Regions from separate parts of the Homo sapiens genome. Here region 2 is linked to region 1. Evidence: promoter capture Hi-C in human tissues and cell types (Jung and others, 2019). All regions are on one chromosome and are shown on one strand. Each heading gives the region's core, a stretch centred on a gene start or on the middle of the fragment in contact. The rest is flanking DNA. Distances are from core to core; before and after follow the strand shown.

What was found. The method cuts DNA at HindIII sites, captures the fragments that hold promoters and counts their contacts. A contact is called where the count stands out against the background at its distance.
Region 2: a contact is called between a fragment that was not itself captured here and the fragment with the promoter of EFCAB6 in region 1, in 1 of the 25 tissues and cell types used here (lymphoblastoid cells).

Annotation. Positions count from the first base shown.
Region 1 is chr22:43,810,984-43,813,765 of GRCh38, forward strand. EFCAB6 (EF-hand calcium binding domain 6) reads right to left here and starts at 1,322. Exons shown (of 32, transcript NM_022785.4): 1 at 1,185-1,322. EFCAB6-DT (EFCAB6 divergent transcript) reads left to right here and starts at 1,439. Exons shown (of 2, transcript NR_186822.1): 1 at 1,439-2,001. RefSeq lists a silencer at 844-1,085 and enhancers at 1,417-1,686, 1,928-2,729. The HindIII fragment of the contact is 13,383 bases long and covers 1-2,782 here.
Region 2 is chr22:43,243,884-43,246,665 of GRCh38, forward strand. The region is part of intron 6 of SCUBE1 (signal peptide, CUB domain and EGF like domain containing 1); the gene reads right to left. Among named protein-coding and RNA genes, the nearest start is that of SCUBE1-AS1, 31 kb to the right of the region's middle. The HindIII fragment of the contact is 3,857 bases long and covers 1-2,782 here.

The sequences.
Region 1 (2,782 bases), core at 72-2,571:
TTGATTTACAGCATTTCTGTTAAGGCCACCCATTTAGGAACACATATTAAATTAGGCCAAGGCGGGCGGATGGATCACTTGAGGTCAGGAGTTTGAAACCAACCTGGCCAACATGGTGAAATCCCGTCTGTACTAAAAATACAAAAATTAGCTGGGCGTGGTGGCAGGCGCCTGTAATCCCAGCTACTTGGGACACCGAGGCACGAGAATCGCTTGAACCCGGGAGGTGGAGGTTGCAGTGAGCTGGGATCGCTGCACTCCAGCCTGGGTGACAGAGGAAGACTCCATCAGGAAAGAAAAGGAGAGGCGAGGGGAGGGAAGGGGAGGGGAGCGGAGGGGAAGGGGAGGGGAGGAGAGAGGAGGGGAGGAAGGGAAGAAAGGGGAAGGGAAGGGAGGGGAGGGGAGGGAGAAAAGAAAAGAAAAGAAAAAAGAAAAGAAAAGAAGAGTCCTCTTAACAGGGGCAAGACATCCTGAAAGGCAAAGATTTGGAGAGAAAGGAAGGGAGTAGAGAGAGGGGTGATTTGGACAACCTTCAAGTAAGCCCTATACAGATGTATACCTCACAAAGTGCTTCCAAACAAAATTTCTGAGGGAGGCAGGGGTAATTATGTGCAGGCTGTGGGAGAAGAGTGTAAAAGAGCAGAGATTTTGCCGTGATACAGAAATGAGTTTGAATTCTGGCTCAGAAACTTCCTAAGATAGTTGTGTGACTTTGGAAAAGCCCCTTCACCCCACAGGTTTCAAGTCCTCGTCTGTCTACAGGAGGGAGTCAATCATGACATTCACAAGACTGCTGTGGGCACAAATGAAATCAGGGGCATGAGACATGTTGTAAACTGGAGAGATTTAGGGCGTTTCCACACACATTTCCCAGCTGATTCTCACAGAGAGGCAGGGAAGAAGACGTCACCACCGTCAGCGTTGTTTATCGTTCTTCTCCACATATCAGGTAAGCTACGGGAACAGGGGCCCTACTGTTCCCCACAGGGCCCCAGGGCCTACAACATGCCTGGCACAAGCAGACGCGCCATGAACACCTGAATAAACGAATCACCACCCCTTCGTCCCTGGGGGTGGGCAGCAGCGCCGGCCTTCTCAGGGCAGTGAGACCCACGGAGCTGCCCGCCCGCCCGGCCCCTCCTCGGCCTGTCGCACGCGCGTGGCCACCCCGAATACAGCCTTACCGGGAACCCCTCCTCGATTCTCCGCCTAGCTGGGCCGGCACCCGCGTGCGCGGACCCCAAGCCGCGGGGTCTCAGAGGGGCTGCCCATTCGGCGTCTCTAGGACGCTGTTGCCCGAGAGACGACGGCAGTCGCTGACTGGAGAATGAGCCTACGCGCCTGGCAAGAAGCTGAGCTGTGATTGGTCAATTGGAGATAAACGAGGAGGGGGCGGGGCCAGGTCAGTCCCGCGCCTCCGCTCCCGGAAGAAATTTCCGCCGGAAGTCCCGTTCTCTGGGGAGCGGGAACCCTGGCGACCCGTGTCATGGGAGCGGGTTTCTGTTACGTGGGCTTTAGCGCGAGCTGGGCGGTCGGCCCGGTCCCACCGAACTGCATAGGGCCGTGTAGCCGGGGGAAGTCAGCCCCCTGCTCTGAGAAGCAGACTCTGCATCTGTAAAAGGCTAAGCGTGCCCACTGGGGCCTGTGGTCAGGATTGGCTGCAGTGAGGTCCGCAAAGCCCCTACCGCATCCTGCGCCTTCGTTAGGGTGAGCAGTCATGGGGACTCGCATTGTGCCACCACGTAGCGGGTCTCACTGGGTCCGCTTGTCTGCTCGAGGAGACAGCCGGTGAGGACGGGAGCTGGCCTGCTTTGCCCAGGCTGTAACCTCAGCCTCCGCCCATACCCACAGTAAGCATCCATTCCATTGATATTCGCTAAATGAGTGAATTATTACTAAGACAGAGGGCCGAGTGGAAGCGCCATAAATCACGTGAGTGAATGTAATTGTTGTCGCTGACCCTATGGAGCACTTCCCTTGCCAGGCACTCACCCATCCTAGGTATGTACTTTACATGTAATTGTCATCTTCATTTGTCTTCACAACAACCCTGTGAGGTGGGTGCTGTGGTTACTCCCATTTTACAGATAGGTAACTGAGGCACACAGAGCATTTTGTTCAAGGACACACTGCCAGTCAGGGGTAGGAGCAGAATGAGAACCTATGGAGCTTGCTCTTAGGCACCCTGCCACACTGCTCACTGTGGGAGAGAAGCAGCCAGGCAGACGTGTGCAGCTTGGAATTCCTTGCACACATGGCTGCGGCAGGTCAATTAGGTGCCCTGGTGTGTGCTGCAAAGATGGATACTATGCGGTCCCTGCTGGGCACTCTGACTACTTCACTGGGCAGCTAGTTTTCCTGTTCACCAAGAGAATTCTTTCCCATGGCTTGTCTCAGACCTCCCGCACTCACTACTTCCTCACCGGACTCAATGACCATGGGTCTTATCCCATTGAGAAAATGTAATGCATAAGAATGGAATGCACTCCTTCACAATCACTTTGGCATTCATCGCCTCTTTTCCTCTTGCCCCAAAAGAGGGTCTCTTACAGAGGCCAGTCCCTCTAACTGTGTCCTGGATCCCTCCCCATTTGCCTTCTTTATTATAGGCAGTGCTCTAAGTGTGGTCTGGGAATCCCTGGGGATCCTGAGACCCTTTCAGACTGTCCATGGGGCCAAAAAATACTTTCATAACACTTAAGACTTTACTTGCTTTTTCATTGTTTTTCTCTCATAAGTATATGGGGGGATTTTCCAGAAGCTACATGATGTGTGATATTGC
Region 2 (2,782 bases), core at 123-2,622, 570 kb before region 1:
CTGCCTATGGAGACTCAGAACCCACAGGCAGTTGCTAATTCATTCAATGATTATTATCTGAACTTCCCTGCCCTGCTAGGATGCGCCTTGGACACAGCCACTGGTCTTCACAGGCGGGTCAATTTCACGGTGCTAGGTGGCCGGGAGAGGGGAGCTACAGAGATGAATGTGACATGCCCCAGGTGTCAACAGTTTATGGAGTGGCGGGGGGCATGAAATAAGGCCCAGACCTCGCCTTTCTCTCCTGGGTCTGCGCCTTCCTCTCACACTGCCCACCTCCCAGCCCATGCCCCGCCACACCCCAGCACGGTTCCTCAGGGTTCCACAGGGCACCCCCCTTGGCCTTGAATAACCAACTCCTCAGGACACAGCAGGCCCCACCTGCCTCCCCGAAAGCTGTCCCGAGCCTTACCCTGGGCTTCTGCCCCACAGGGCAGCGCTGTCTGTGTGTGCAGAGGCCTCTCCCACTGACCACACGCTATCTGGGCAGGGCAGCGTCAAGGTGACCAGCACGGCGGAGGTGTCTAATGAGTTGTGCTCAATGACTAGATTAATGAGCAGGGACTCTGGAGGCCCCAAGAGGAACAGAAGCAAGTCTGGGAACTGGGACCCTACCCTCTGTTGGGCCTGGAAGGGAGAGTGAGCTGGGAGGCGAGGTGGGCAGGACTGAAGGGCGAATGTGCCCCTGGTGGAGGAGGCAGTGTGGTGCTGCGCTGTGCAGGGCACAAGGGCGCTCTGTGGTGCACAATGGGAAGTGGGTGTGGGTGCCAGGCTCAGTGCCAGCACACGGGGGGACTGTGGGCAAAGGACCCTCCCCTCCCTAGGCCCTGGGTTTCCCACCTGTGTTGTGCCTGAACATCGCTGAGGTGCTTTTCACCAGGGCAGAGGCTCTGATCCGGTGGGTCTGGCATGGGCCCAGCGTCCCACAAAGGCCCTGCCATCCCTTCTTCCTCCCTGCCCCTCAGTGGCCTACCCTGATGATGGGGGCAGCCCGGGGTCCTCGCCAGAACCTGCTGATCCCTCAATCAGGGCTGGCCCACCTGCCCTTCTGTCCCTAGAATCAACAGAAGCTGCGGTGAAAAGGGATTGGCCGGCCCTTCCGGCAGATCTGGGGACCTCTGACCTCTGACCATCTTCCCACAGCTGGCTGCTGAACCCTCCATGGCTCCCATCGCTTTGGGATAAAAGCCACGCCGTGCTCCCTGGCAAGCCCCTGACACAGTGGCCCTGGTCTCCCTGGCTGGCCTATCTCCCGAGGGGCCCTCTGAACTCCGGGGAGGCCCTGTGGCCCGTCACTAGTGTTGTGCAGCAGCCTTATGGCCAGCGCTGTGCTGGGCACCACGAATGTGGCCTCCCTTGCGCCTCTGACAGTCAGCAGGGTGTGGTGGAGGGAACTTGACACCCTCAGCAGAGGGCCGCGCCTGGTCCTGACCACGCCTCCCCGCCTGCCTCTACCTCCACTGGGCAAATGGTCAATCCTGAGACCTGTCTGCTGGGGGGGTGCCGGCTGGGTCTGCCCCAGGGCTGCCTGGGGACACGCTGGTGACAGTGCATGCAGGTGGTGGCGCGGGTGGGGTGGGGCTCAAGTGTGGCTGGACGCAGGGTGACTGTGGAGGCTGCAGCCCTGACAAGGAAGTGGCTCTCAAGGAGAACACGGGACAGGACACCCCGGCAGGCTCCTCCAGAGCCAGCGCTGCTCGTGTCTAAGGCTGCGGGGCCCCAACGCCCATGATCCCCAAGGGCCACCCAGGCCTCTGAGGCAGCCCAGGGTCTCCTGGACTCTGCCTTTTTAGTACACAGCCCCGTGACTCTGAGGCCCATTTTGGCCCTCTGCTGACCTTAGCCCGGCCCTGCTGAAATAAAAGGCCCACAGGCCTGCACCATCCTTAGGGCCTCCGTCTACCTGAGAACCGTGCTGCTTGGGGAACAATTTGCAAGGCAAATTATTGTCAGTGGCACTGTCTTCCAAGGCAGCAGGCGGGGCCTCAATTCCAGGATGCGCTAGGAGTGTGGCAAGCCACCTTCTCTCGTGACTAGTGGGCGGGTGGGTGTTCCCGCACCTGCTCAGAAAGCAGAAGCCACTGGGATGGAGGGACGGTGCCCTGCAGGACTGTGGCATGGGGGCTGCAGGGAGGCCTGAGGGCTGGTGGCACCAGGTGTATGGAAGATGCCCACCCAGGAGCAAGACAAGCCGACCTCAGGAGAGGTCTCCTCACTTGGTTTGAGGGGTCCCGAGTGCCCCTTGGAGGACAGGGAGGTTTCATATTAAAGCAGGTGGCAGGAGCAGGGCCTCCAGTGGCCAGTCTCCCCCTGCCCTGCCTCCTTCACTTCCTGCCTCTACCCTGGCTCCTCAGTGAAGGGTGCTTAGGGCAGACAAGGGGGCTCCCCTGTGGGTGGGATCCCTGGGGCCCACCCACAGGAGGCATCATGGCCGTGCCCCAGGAGGCTTGGAGGGTTGAGATGCGGTAAGGGGAAGGAGCTGGTGAGGGCAGGCAGCTGGGAAGCAGCTGGGCCAGTGCTCTTCCGTGCACCAGGCGGACCCTCCAGCTGTGTGTGCCCAGGGAGGCTTGGGGATCTGATCAACAGCAGCTCACACTCACTGATCAGGCTCATGCCAGGCCCTGTGCAAAGCCTGGGGAGGCAGAGCTATCACCTGCCTGCCCCTGGAGGGGAAGGGGTGTAGGATAGAGGGAACTGGAAGAGCTGCTCTCACCTCTCTGAGCTTCGGTTTCCTTATCTGTAACACTAAACCTTGCAGGTTGCCGGGAACATTGAACATGTC